Linked DNA regions of Homo sapiens: region 2 is linked to region 1. The links are contacts of gene promoters, found by promoter capture Hi-C in blood cells and fetal thymus (Javierre and others, 2016). All regions are on one chromosome and are shown on one strand. Each heading gives the region's core, a stretch centred on a gene start or on the middle of the fragment in contact. The rest is flanking DNA. Distances are from core to core; before and after follow the strand shown. Region 1 holds the start of USP48 (ubiquitin specific peptidase 48). Region 2 overlaps ZBTB40 (zinc finger and BTB domain containing 40).

Region 1 (7,062 bases), core at 2,460-4,959:
GAGAACTGGAGAAGAGTACAGAAAATGCTTTCCAGGAGTTTTGCTATAAAGGGAAAAAGAGAAATGGGACAGTAGCTGGAGGGGGATGTGGGAGTCAAGAGAGGGTTTGTTAAACTTCAGAGAAATTACAGCAAATTAGCACATTTGGGTTTTGTTTGTTTGTTTTTGAGACAGGGTCTCCCTCTGTCGCCCAGACTGGAGTGCAGTGGTGAGATCTCTGCTCACTGCAACCTCGACCTCCTGGGCTCAAGCAATCCCTCCACTTCAGCCTTCTGAGTAGCTGGGACTACAGGTGCCTACCACCACACCTGGCAAATTTTTGTATTTTTGTAGAGACAGGGTTTCACCATGTTGCCCAAGCTGGTCTCGAACTCCTGACCTCAGATGATCTGTCCACCTCGGCCTCCCAAAGTGCTGGATTACAGGCGTGAGCTACCGTGCCTGGCCGAAATCATCTTCTTTCTAAATCTGTTCCTTCTTCTGGTGTTGCTATCTCATTTGGTAGAAATTCTATTTAATTATCCAATTTAGAAAACTGCCATATAGTAGTGTCTTCATGGTGAATGATAGTCACAATTTCATCATGTGCTAAGTGAAGCAAGGGATGACACAGGGAGCTGTGGATACTGAGGAAAGGGGTGTGACCAGACTTGAAGGTCAAATATCAGAAAGGTGAAGATATACCGGTCAGGTCAACATCATCAAGCTGTAGCAAGTCCTCATTCTGTCCAAGGCGTTTGAACCAGAGTGACTCTATCTTGAATGGGGGCTGGGTAAAATAAGGCTGAGACCTACTGGGCTGCATTCCCAGGAGGTGAAGACATTTTTTTTGCCTGAGTTTCCCACCGTCGCCTGGGATGGAGTGCAATGCCACGATCTTGGCTCACTGTAACCTCCGCCTCCTGTTCAAGCAATTGTCCTGCCTCAGCCTCCTGAGTAGCTGGGATTACAGGTGCCCGCCACCATGCCTGGCTAATTTTTGTATTTTTAGTAGACCCAGGGTTTCACTATGTTGGCCAGGCTCATCTCGAACTCCTGACCTCGTGATCCGCCCACCTTGGCCTCCTAAAGTGCTGGGATTACAGGCATGAGCCACCATGCCTGGCCTAAGGCATTCTTAGACACAGGATGAGATAGGAGGTCTACACAAGATACAGGTCATAAAGACATTGCTGAGAAAACAGAATGCAGTAAAGAAGCTGGTTAAAACCCACCAAAACCAAGATGGCCATGAGACTGACCTCTGGTCGTCCTCACTGCTTATTATATGCTAATTATTATACGCTAATTATTATACATTAGCATGCTAAAAGACATGCCCACCAGTGCATGACAGGTTACAAATGCCATGGCAAAGTCAGGAAGTTACCCTATATGGTCTAAAAAGGGGAGGAGGCCAGGCGCGGTAGCTCACACCTGTAATCCCAGCACTTTGAGAGGCCGAGGTGGGCGGATCACCTGAAGTCCGGAGTTCGAGACCAGCCTGACCAACATAGTGAAACCCCGTCTCTACTAAAAAATACAAAAAAATTAGGCGGGCGTGGTGGCAAAAGCCTGTAATCCTAGCTACTTGGGAGGTTGAGGCAGGAGAATCGCTTGAACCCAGGAGGCGGAGGTTGCAGTGAGCCCAGACCACACCATTGCACTCCAGCCTGGGCAACAAGAGCAAAACTCCGTCTCAGGAAAAAAAAAAGTCTTCTCTGCCTCACTATACAAAATGCAAATCTCCATTATAGCACTCAACAGCTGTATATCTTCAGTGGGTACTTTGAATAAAGGTCTTCCTTTTTTTGTTTTTTTTTTTGTTGTTATTGTTGTTTTATTGTTGTTGTTATTGTTGTTTTGTTTTGTTTTTGTTTTTTTTTTGGAGACAGAGTCTCGCTCAGTCGCCCAGGCCGGAGGGCAGTGGCGCGATCTCCGCTCACTGTAAGCTCCGCCTCCTGGGTTCCCGCCCTTCTCCTGCCTCAGCCTCCAGAGTAGCTGGGACTACAGGCGCCCGCCACTACGCCCGGCTATTTTTTTTGTATTTTTAGTAGAGAGGGGGTTTCACCGTGTTAGCCAGGATGGTCTCGATCTCCTGATCTCGTGATCCGCCCGCCTTGGCCTCCCAAAGTGCTGGGATTACAGGCGTGAGCCACCGCGCCCGGCGGCAAGGTCTTCCTTTCAAGCCATAACTCTCACCTGTCCCTGTCTCAGAAATTGTGGCCCTCTCACGCCAAGCTTTTCTCTTCTGTGCCTTTGCTCCTTGTGGTTTCTTTTTTTCTGGAATGGTGTCTTTCTTCTATCCTGGATAAGTCCAACTCACCCGTTAAAAGCGGGCTTCGGAATTACTTCTGGGAAGCCTTTTCTCAAGTACCCCGAAGCCTCCCAAGACTGGGATGGGGATCTTTGTATTTCTACCGCTCACTCCCTAACCCACTTCCAAGGGCAGGGACCACATCTTACTTTCTTCTGCCTTCAGCGAATTTTTTTGTTTTTTTTGAGACGGAGTTTTACTCTTGTTGCCCAGGCTGGAGTGCAATGGCGTTATCTCGGCTAACCACAACCTCCGCCTCCCGGGTTCAAGCGATTCTCCTGCCTCTGCCTCCCGACTAGCTGGGATTACAGGCATGCGCGACCGCGCCTTGCTAATTTTGTATTTTTAGTAGAGACGGGGTTTCTCCATTTTGGTCAGGCTGGCCTCGAACTCCTGACCTCAGGTGATCCGCCCACCTCGGCCTCCCAAAGTGCTGGGATTGGATCCTTGAGCCACGGTGCTCGGCCCAGTGAATGTTTATCTAAAGAATTCAGCCTAAGGTTTTCCAGCAGGCAAGCAGCTGAGTCAGAAGTTAGCGCTTAGATTCTGGCAGAGCTCTAATTCAAATTCAAAATTCTTAAATATCCTCACTTTAGTAGAGTTCTTTACAGTTTGCAAAACAATTCTCATAAAGCTACTCTTTATGTCCTGGGGCAGGAGTCGCAGAAAGGAAATGTTTTAAACCAGGAGCTAGAGAGGAACTAGAAAATCCTGGCATAGAGGTAACAGTCTTGAGAAGGGAGCCAACAGCAAACATGACCTTGCGCACCAGAGAAACTCCACCCTGGCACCTCGGACCCCCGCCCGCACAGTCTGCGGCGCACTGAGCACTCCCACCTCGAAGACTACAAATCCCAGCATGCCTCACAGTCAGTGGCAGGACGCAGGGCATGCCGGGACACGTAGTCCCACCCTAGCACGGGAAAAGGCCGGAAGGTCCCATGACGTCAGGAGGGCTCGGGAAAGGGGTTCGGAACCGGTCTAGGCTCAAGTTAAATCTCCCTCTAAAGAGCCAACACTGGTTTCTTTGGCGACTCGGTTTCTACTCTAAACAGGTCCCGCTCCACAGTCTGGGCGGGCCTGTGTGTGCGTTGAGTAGCCTCTAGCGTGAAAACTTCATGGTTAAAAGGGAAGTACCGGAGGCAAGAAATAGCTTTCGAGGCACTGGTTTGTTAGAGTAGTGGTACGTAGTGCGCCGCCCTGAACGGGGGCTGAGACGCTGCTTTTCCAGAAGTGCCAGTGAGGACGTGGCAAGACCGCCTCGGACGTACGCTTCCTCTACCTCAGCCCGTCGGGTTAGGGGCGCGGGAGGCGCAGAGGCTGCTGGGAACGCGCATGCGCTCAGCGCGGCGGGGAGTCCACCTTTAACGTCCGCGGGCGCGGGGTGTGTCGGGTGTCGACGGCGGCGCTTTGCGGCCGGTCGTGCGGGTCGGGCGCGGGCGGGCGCGGCGGCAGTGGCGCGCACAGGTGATTGACTGGCCAGCTGCCTGAAGGAGCGCCAGGTCCTCCTTGCTGGCAGGTGGCGAAGCCCATTGGGGCGGCGGTGCAGACCGCGGCGGCGGCTGCGGCGGTCTGGCTCGGGAGGCGTTCCTGGGGCCAAGGCCATGGCCCCGCGGCTGCAGCTGGAGAAGGCGGCCTGGCGCTGGGCGGAGACGGTGCGGCCCGAGGAGGTGTCGCAGGAGCACATCGAGACCGCTTACCGCATCTGGCTGGAGCCCTGCATTCGCGGCGTGTGCAGGTGAGGCCCGCGCACCGCGCCTCGCGGGCTCCTCGCGCCGGACCTTGGAAAGCCCGGGCGGGGTAGGGGAAAGGAAGACGGCAGCCCTTTGCGTGCATTTGGGAGGCGCGGAGCCGAGCGAGGTGGAGTTTCCCCCTTTGCGCCGTCTGCGCGACCTGGGAAACGCAGGCTTCCCGGGCTGTGCGCGGAGGTGATGCTGGCCAAAGCACTTTAGGAAGGTTTGGGTTCCCATCCAGAAGATGGCGGTGGAGATGAAGGCAGGAGCTGAGAGCTTAGCAAGCGTTGATGGTTGGGGTATCTTGGCCACAGCACGGCTCTTTCGTTTGTAAAAAGGAACTTTTTGGAAGTGAGCTTCATCACAGTGTATCTTGTTGGTGTTGACACCGAAGGCCTGATCATCTTAGTATTATTTTTGTAGAGGGCAGCTTTAGAAAAAACTGTGGTCAGCCTACGTCATCGATACCCTGCACCCCCGTTGGCCTTCCCTCACTCGTTAATCTAGTATTTTTTTTAAGCCTTTCTTTGGTCGTTCTGGTTCGACACCAGTTTACCGAGTACCAAGTTTAAGCTGTGATAGTGCTGTCCTTCACGTCTGCGCCGCCCTTGAACTTTACCTTTCCTTAACCCCCTCATATAGATTGAATCCTTAGGCTTTGCTCCCGTTTATTCCCTTTTTTCCACCTTGTAACGCGGGAACTATAGTTTTTGTTTCAGAATGTTGTTGAAATTGACTTGGCCAAGCCGGGCATGCTCAGTAGCCGTCTTTCGGCAGGCATTTAGGAAATGCTTTCTGGAGTTTTTACATTCCGCTGGGGGATCCGGAAGGAATGGAAGTCATGGTCTCTGGCTTTGGAGCTTAAAGTCTAGTATGAGAAGTGAAATAAGTTAGGGAGTTTCTATAAAGCAAACGAATAAGTCCAAGCTCTGGGCGTCTGTCTCACAAGGAGGGTAAATCTGACTTTAACAGTAAGTTCTGGAATGTTTGAAGTCTGTGTATAATAGAAATAATCAAGCTTCAGTCAGTTTCTCAACGTAATTAGTTTCCAGACTAACCAAATAATGTAAACTACTAATAGTTCTGGTGGTTTTTGAGACAGGGTCTCACTCTGTCACACAGGCTGGAGTGCAGTGTCACGAGCTCGGCTCACTGCAACCTCCGTTTCCCAGGCTCAAGCGATCCTCCCACCTCGGCCTCCGGAGTAGCTGGGATTAGAGGCACGGGCCACCACGCCCGACTCAGTTTTGTATTTTTAGTGGAGACGGGTTTTCGCCATGTTGGCCAGGCTGGTCTCGAGCTCTGGGCTCAAGCGATCTGCCCACCTCTTCTGGGATTACAGGCGTGAGCCACCATGCTGGGCCAATTTCTGATATTTATTTATTTATTGAGACGGTGTTTCGCTCTTATTGCCCAGGCTAGAGTGCAATGGCGTGATCTCGGCTCACTGCAACCTCTGCCTCCTTGGTTCAAGCGATTCTCCTGCCTCAGCCTCCTGAATAGCTGGGATTACAGGCATGCACCATCATGCCCGGCTAATTTTTTTTTATTATTTTTATTTTTTGTATTTTTAGTAGAGACAGGGTTTCTCCATGTTGGTCAGGCTGGTCTCGAACTCCTGACCTCAGATAATTTGACCGCCTTGGCCTCCCAAAGTGCTGGCATTACAGGCGTGAGCCACCGCCCGCCAGGCCGATACTTTTTTTTTTTTCGAGACAGCGTCGTGAGACGCTGGATAAATTTAAAAAAATAAATTTTTAAAATAAAAATTTTAAAAGAAAAAAGAATAGGCCGGGTGCGGTGGCTCATGCCTGTAATCCCAGCACTTTGGGAGGCCGAGATGGGCGGATCACGAGGTCAGGAGTTCGAGACCAGCCTGGCCAGCATGGTGAAACCCCGTCTCTACTAAAAATACAAAAATTAGCCGGGGGTGGTGGCGGGCGCCTGTAATCCCAGCTACTGGGGTGGCTGAGGCAGGAGAACCCTGGAACCCGGGAGGTGGAGGTTGCGGTGAGCCGAGATCACGCCACTGCACTCCAGCTTGGGCAACAGGGCGAGACTCAGTCTCAAAAAAAAAAAAAAAAAAAAAATTATCTTATCTTGGCTCTGTATGCCCTGTATGTTCCGCCTCTAAATTTCCCTATTCTGGACATTTCATATAAATGGAATCCTAAAATACGTGGACTTTTGTGACTGATTTCCTTTACTTATGTATTTAAGGGTCATCCATGTTGTAGCATGTTTCAGCACTTCATTTCATTAAAAAAATACCTGGGAAATACATATGACAGTGTTTACCATTTTAAAGTGCACAATTCGGTGGGTTTCAGTACCTTTATAGTGTTGTACAACCATCACCACTGTCTGGTTCCAGAACTTTTCATTATCCTAAAAGGAAACTGAGCATCTGTTAGTCACTTCCCATTTTCCCCCCTCGCCCAGCCCCTGGCAACTGCTAATCTACTTTCTGTCTCTGGATTTCTCTATTAATATTTCATAGCAATGGAATTATACAGTACGTGGCCATTTGTGTCTGGTTTCACTTAACGTAATGTTTCCAAGGGTTATCCCTGCTGCGCATGTGTCACTACTTTATTCCTTACGGCTGAGTAGTATTCCATTTTATGGATAATACCACATTTTATATATCTATTCATCAGTTGAGGGACATTTTGATTATTTCCACCTTTTGCTTATTTTGAGTAGTACTTCTCTGAACATTTGCATACAAGTTTTGGTCTGAACATCTGATTTCAGTTCTTTACCTGGGAGTGGAATTACTGGGTCATACACAGTCAATTCTGTGTTTAACTTAACCGAACCGCGAAACTTCCACAGTGGTTGTACCGATTTACATTCCCACCAGTGATGTATGAGGGTTCAAATGCTTCATCATCCTCATAAACAGGTACTATTTTCTGTTTTTCTGGTTAGGCCCTCCTACTTGGGTGTGAAGTGATGCATCTTTGTAGTTTTGATTTGCATTTTCCTAGTGACTAATGAGTTCAGCGTCTTTTCATGTGCTCGTTGCCT
Region 2 (7,062 bases), core at 1,802-4,301, 670 kb before region 1:
AGTTCTCCCTAAGCTAATTTATAAAATGTAACACAATCCTAATAAAAATACCATCAAGTCATCTCCTCTTGAAACCAGACAAATTGATTATTAAGTTCATATGCCAGAATAAACAAGCAAAAACAGCCAGGAAAACCCTGAAAAAGAGCAATATTTTAAAAATTGGCCCTTCCAGATGTTAAATGATAAAGCCTCTAAAATTAAGATGATTTTGTAACAGCATATGAATTGGCAATCAAACCAATGGAACAAAACAGAAAATCCAGTAAGAAATCTAAATGCATACAAAGGCTTAGTATTCAATAAAGACAGCATCTCAAATCAGTGAAGAAAAAAGTTTTTAATAAGTACTGTTGAGACAACTGACTGGCCATTGGGATAAAGATAAAATCAGATCCTTCCTCAAACCAAATACTAAGATAAATTTCAAATGGATCAGAGTCTTAAATGTTTTTTAAAAAGTGAAATCATAAGCCTTACATGTACTAGAAGAAAATATAAATGGATGCTCCATAAATTGAGAGTGGGGCAAATATCCTAACTATGACTGCAAATCCAAAGCAATACACGGTAAGACTGAGAAACACAACTATATAAAGATATAAAACTTGGATAGAAATAAAACAATATATACAAAGTCAAGCATATGACAACTGGAAAAATATATTTGCAATCTGTATCACAGACATGATATATCCTTTATCTCATAAAAAGAAACAACAAATTTAAGCTATACTGAAATATTATTTCTTACCTGACAGATTGGCAAAACCCCAAAACTTTAACAGCATACTTTGTTAGCAAGACAGGAGAAACAGAGAAGAAGGGTTTAGGTATGAAATAAAAACTTCTTGGTAAAAAGGAATTTAATTTTTAATAGCAATCCTTAAAGTTTAAAACCAATGACAGCCTGGCACAGTGGCTCACACTTGTAATCCCAGCACTTTGGGAGGCCGAGGCAGGTGGATTGCTTGAGGCCAGGAGTTCAAGACCAGCCTGGGCAACATGGTGAAACCCCATCTCTACCAAAAATCATAAAAATTGGCCAGTTTCCTAATCCATTCTCAAAATTAATTAATTTTTTAAAAAAGTATTCAAGAAAAAGAGCCTGTTTATGAAGTTGGTGATACAACTACACAGAAGATAATTACATCAAGTGACTTTAAGACAATATCTGACTACACATCTCAAGTAGCATATATTCTAAGGAAAAAAGGAATAACAGAAAACCCAAACAGCATTCAGTAATATAAAGGTCAGTGTAGATAATGGCATTGCTACTGGCCTGGTTGATACCAGCAGCAGGGAAGTCCAGGGAGAGGGAGCAGCCTTGAAGCCTTGGAATGTGGCCCACTGGCCCCAGAAAGGATGAAGTCCTGTGGCCACTGAGAGATTTCAACTGGTGCTCAATATAAGGTGAATTGTGGGAGGAGGGGCTGCTCAGAGGCTTGAGAGACAGGCACAGCCACAGTTGGAGGGTAGCACTTGCTGGACCATCCTAAGGGCAGGCAAGCCATCCAAGAGTTTTAAAGCAAGGGAATCACATATTCCGATCTGTGCTTTATAAAGACCACTGGTAACAGTGTACCAAATAGATTGGAGAGGAATGAAGCTGAAAGCCACTGACCAACTAGAAGGCTGTTTCATAATCCAGGACAAGAGATTATAGCAACTCTAACCAAAGGAAGAGAAAGGGTAGAAGAAATCAACAGTCCTGTAGCCTAACTAAATATGTGCTGAAAGAGAAGATCATGGCACCATTCCCAGGTTTCTGCCTTTGGCAACTCTGTGGTGCCATCCACTGAGCCTAAGAACCAGGGAGAAGTACCAGGTGGAAGAAAGATGGCAAATTCACTGCTGCCAATGCCCTGGAGACCATCTTCTGGAGCTAATGGGGACAAGGAGCAAAAGGAGTCAAGAAGGAAAACTCAGGAAGACTCAATGGTCAGGCCCCAGTCCTAGAAAGCTGAGAAATAGGACGAAATTAGCAGGTTAGATTACCTCTTACAGTATTTTCTCAAAATAAGAAATAGAATCACCTACCGTTCACCTTTGTTTTTATGCTAAAAATAACCCCACTATAGCTAACACTAGCTAACAAATATTAACCAACAAATAACCAATATTTGGAGCCTGAAAACCTATTATTTACAGTTATAATCCTTTGTTTCTAATTTCCTCATCCTTCTTGGCCCATTTCTTGCATAAAGCATCCTCTACTGTTTGGTCCTGTTCCAGAACCACGCTAGTGCCTGCAGCAGAGGTCGCTCATGCAAACGCCTCCAGGGGTCAGACAGATGGAAAATCTCTAATGCTTAAATGGAAGTAACTACTTTTTAAACACTCTATGAGCCAAACTCTGGCCTATAGGAGTTTTCTATTGAGGTCCCAGTTTTACAGAATATCCTAAGATAAAGATATTTCCTTGTTTTTGTTTCCCTTTGGGTACTAATAAAACCAGAAATTACATTTATGAATTGCCTTTTTCAGAAGTCCAAGTATTAGTTAAATTCTGAGATAGGTTTTGCCTCAATATAGCAGCTTTTTCTTTTCACAGAGATAAAGAGAGGGGACTCTGTGGACAAATGCAGGGAAACAGCCTTTCTTTCTTTAATCCTCTGCTTCCTCAAGTCTATCCCCTCCCCTCTTCTTCTTTCCTTTAAAAAAAAAAAATAGAGACAGGGTCTCAACTGGAATGCAGTGGTCTGATCACAGCTCACTGCAGCCTCAACTCCTGGGCTTGCATAAGTGATCCTCCTGCCTCAGCCTCCCAGAGTGCTGGGATCACAGGCATGAGCCACTGTGCCCAGCCTTCTTTCCCTTTTAACCCAGCCTTCGTTAAGTCTGAGGAACTGACTCCATCTGCAAGAAGCTGATGCCTAGAAACAAAGCAGTGAGCTTCCACTACCTCCTCCTTTCCTCTATCAGTAGAAACAGTTATGATATCTGCTAACGAGGTTGCCTAGACAATAGGTCCACATCTCACCAGTCTCATGTAAATTAACAACAACCATCTGTAAGGCATTTATGAAGCAGTTCAATGGGCAGATATCTATGTTACACAAACATTCAACTATGCTTGACCACTTTAGACAGAAAACAAAGCCTGAAAAGACTTAAAATCTGAGATTAAGGTTACAGAGCAGTGAAACAGTACCTGGTTTCAGGGGAGATTCTCATCGCGCCTTCAGTTAGGTGATGTTACATGTGATGTTTCATTGTTGGTTCTGCACCTTTTAAAGGGTCAAGGGCCTTTCTGAGATCAGATTAAAGTAACTGGCTCTCTCCCCAGAAAAAATGACATTCACACAAATTTGCAGGCAACTTCAAAGGATTCATGGGTCTCTTGAAATTCAACCATTTACCCTGAGATTAACAATCTCTGACTTACATGGATCAGCATAATACATTTATGTAAGGAAATGAAATACGTGGCATCATAATTTTGAGGATTTGGAGTTAAATAACAACATTAGGGAAATGTAAGGAAAGCTGGCTTTCTTTCCTTATCCTTCTCTCTCGAGGGCTGCCAGAGTCTCAAAACTGCATGCTCCCTGCAAATGAAATACTGCACTCTCTGCTAGACTTACAGAAAGTGACAATCTCATCTCTCAATTTAAATGCCCTTAATATTTAATTCTTTCCTCTATGTGGTTAGTAGCTTGCTTTCTCCACATTATCCAGATGATGGCTTTGGAAGGCAGACTATTGGAGATCCAGAAAACCATATATCCCAATTCAATTTCCTTGTGAAAATCAAAGAGCTCACTCTGCTGAAGAGTTGAAAGAGGCTGAGGGGTCACTGCCTTCCCTCAGGGTGCTGGTTCAGGCAGTACTCGAGAAGGGTAATGTAAATACTCAGTACGAGGCAACAGGGCATACTAATTTGTTTTTCAATCTATTTTATTTCAGTTCAAAGCATCATTGCAGACAGATAGTCCAAGAAAACAAGCCACACTTGGGTTATACTCAGTCTTCCTCAATCTCCAAAAGCAGGTGAGTGTTGCCAAAGTGTGGCTCGTTTTCCGGGGCTGCCTGTCTGCAATGATGCTTTGAACTGAAATAAAATAGACTGAAAAACAAACTGGTATGCCCTGGCTCTTCTTGCAGTTTCATACTATCCTTCAAAGCTAGTGTTAGCACCTGCTCTTTACTGGAACCCAACAGACCCAAATCACAGAGTAAAACTGCAATACTTTAGATGCAAAGGTCCCACCCAAACCTAAAATAGCAATTTAATTCAGGGCTTGTTGTTTAACATTGCATTAAATGACACTCTCTGTCCAGTTCTTTGCTCCGTTTGCAGGGTTAGAATGTGTCTTCTGATGACATGTGCAATATGGTTACTAGGGAGAGTTTAAAGCGAAACCTGCCATGCTGTTCTTCTTACATAGTTCCCTTGATTTATTATTGCTTCTAATTTCTTACATTTATGAACCCGAACATTATCCTATTTTTACTTAGTCAAAAAGCCTGCCATTTGCCTCAAAGCATTCAATACTGTTTTAGAGTATGTGACATTATTTTGAAAACTTTTGGAGGAAACTTGAAATCATGCACAAACAAATTTTTAAATCGCCACCAACTAAAAGTCTAACATTTGTTTAGAATGCCTTAAGAGAATACATACACCTTTGATGGAGGAACATAAGTAGTTTCCAACTTAAAACACTAAAATGCTGAAAAGTGTTCTGCATAGACAGCTGTACAATTTGGCTTTAAAAAAATTAGATGCCATTTGGAAAAGTTCCTCTCCAAGCAGAAACACTAAGAAAAAACAAGATCTGCTCCCCTCTTTCTGGAGATAGAAAGTAGAGGGCTTCTATTTTTAATTGGATTCCCCCATTCTTAATTTTGTCTGTAATGTATTTCTGGATTTTTGTTATTAGTTAGCACTTTATAAAGTTTCCATTTGGAGCTAAATTTGGTTATTCAGCAATATGTGTAACAACAACAAAAAGAAAATACCATAGCTATGAATACAGTTTCTCTTATTTAATCTGCACAACCCTTTGAGGAGGCACCATTATCCACATTTTCCAGGTCAGATAACTAATCTGTAACTTGCCCTTGGGCGTGCAGTTCTCTCAGTAGTAGCTGGGTTCACGGCCAGGGACTGAGCACAGGAGTGAACCACAGCACAGTGACTCCCTTTGAGTTCTCCAACATCTCACGTTGTTACCCACCTTAGTCTCTGAACCTGCTGAAAAGTTCTTCCTCCCAGCTTCGTCTCTCCCTTTCCCCTTCTTGCTAGACTGGTTCCTTGTCACTCAACAAGTTTCAGCTTAAACTGCCTTTCTTAAGAGAGGTTTTCCCTGACCACCCAGATAAAAAGTGAGTCTCCCAGGTTAGTGTCTCTCTCCGTGCTGTTTTATTTCCTTTAGAGCAGTTGCCACAATTTGGAATAACTTTGTTATTTCTTTACTGTCTTGACACTAGGCTTTAGCTTCCAGAACAGAGCCCCAGGTCCATCTTGCTCACCCTGGTAATCACAGGACCTAGACAGTGGTGCTTGGTACATGGAGACACTAAAATATTTGTTCGAGGCCGGGCGCGATGGCTCACGCCTATAATCCCAGCACTTTGGGAGGCTGAGGCGGGCAGATCACTTGAGGTCAAGACTTCAAGACCAGCCTGAACAACATGGTGAAACTCTGTCTCTACTAAAAACACACAAAAAATTAGCCGGGTGTCGTGGCACATGCCTGTAGTCCCAGCCATTCAGGAGGTTGAGGCAGAAGAATCACTTGAACCCGGGAGGCGGAGGTTGCAGTGAGCCGAGATTGTGCCACTGCACTCCAGCCTGGGCAACACAGCGAGACTCTGTCTCAAAAAAATAAATAAAATAAAATAAAATAAAAATTTGTTCAATGAATGACCTAGATTTGTTTACTTGGTATTTACCTGCAAACACCAGGTTGTGGGTACTGGCTAGCAGCTGAGGATAACAACAGTAAGGTGTGGTCCCTGCCCTTAAGGACCTCCTAAGCTAGTAGGAAAGACAATAAACAGATGGAACAATACAGGGTGTTCAGTGTGATCAGATTAGCTTCAGCTCTCAGCTGAATGCCTTAGCTATGTAACCTCGAACATCTCTCCGACGTGAGTTTGTTTCCTCTATGCGTAAAATGGTAATATTAATACTACTTATGTCATAGTATTGGTGTGAGGATTAAGTGATAGTCCATATAAATAAAGCACTTAGCACAGTACCTGGCACAAAATAATCACTCAGTAAATAGCAACTAATAATTTTATTATGATGATGCTATTACAGCTGTATTTGAAATTATCTTTGTCTACCTGTATACCACTTGTCCAAGCCCCACATAGAATTTAAATTCCATGGAAGGGCAGAAATCATATTTGTCTTGTTCACCACTGTATTTCCAGGAATTTGAAACGTCTCTGGTACACAGTAAGTGCTCAACAAACACTAAATGATTAATGAATGCATGCGTACATGCATGGGGTGTTCTGAAACCATTTGTTAAACCACTAATGAATAGCTAAGTTTGGGGACTACTGACATAGAAGAAAAGTGTTTATATTAGAAAGGAGGGGCAGAAGTTTGATGATTTAGCTAAGTAGAAAAAAATTTCACTGAGATTGTAATTAAATCTCCATTAACCATACAAAGATCTGGGTACAATTCCAGGGAAGAACAAACAATTCCAGGTAGAAAAGACTTGAAAGAATAAAATCCAAAGCAGTTTGACCGGTGCCATCAGGCAGGGGGCTCCCAGGGACAGGCTCAATTTGGCAGCCCTATAACCTAGTACACCTATACATATATTAACCACTCAGAACAAATTTCTTCCTCGTTTGTAAAATGGAAATACCATACTTACTTATAAAGCGTCGTCATAAAGTAGAACAACACTTGTATGAATATAAATAAAGCACCTGGTTCATTGCAGCACTGGCTGCATGGTACCAACGCTATTCAAAGCAGGAGAAACTCTGAATAGTCAGTAAGACCAGAAGGGAAGCCAGAGTGTTCTGTCAACTAAAGTGCTCTCGGTGCATCGCGCAGTTTTAACTCTTTTCCCACTCCAGAAG

Evidence for each region. Contacts are between HindIII fragments. The CHiCAGO score rates a contact against its expected background, and 5 or more counts as called.
Region 2: a fragment that was not itself captured here is called in contact with the fragment with the promoter of USP48 in region 1 in 5 of 17 cell types (naive CD8 T cells, activated CD4 T cells, naive CD4 T cells and 2 more); the score reaches 8.5 in naive CD8 T cells.

The regions. Positions count from the first base shown.
Region 1 is chr1:21,779,796-21,786,857 of GRCh38, reverse strand. USP48 (ubiquitin specific peptidase 48) reads left to right here and starts at 3,709. Exons shown (of 27, transcript NM_032236.8): 1 at 3,709-4,034. The coding sequence starts at 3,901. RefSeq lists silencers at 1,024-1,198, 3,586-3,945 and enhancers at 3,326-3,375, 3,121-3,891, 4,316-4,415, 3,892-4,663, 4,976-5,025. The HindIII fragment of the contact is 2,827 bases long and covers 2,223-5,049 here.
Region 2 is chr1:22,452,736-22,459,797 of GRCh38, reverse strand. All of the region lies in intron 1 of ZBTB40 (zinc finger and BTB domain containing 40), which reads right to left. Among named protein-coding and RNA genes, the nearest start is that of ZBTB40, 4.4 kb to the right of the region's middle. The HindIII fragment of the contact is 9,659 bases long and covers 1-7,062 here.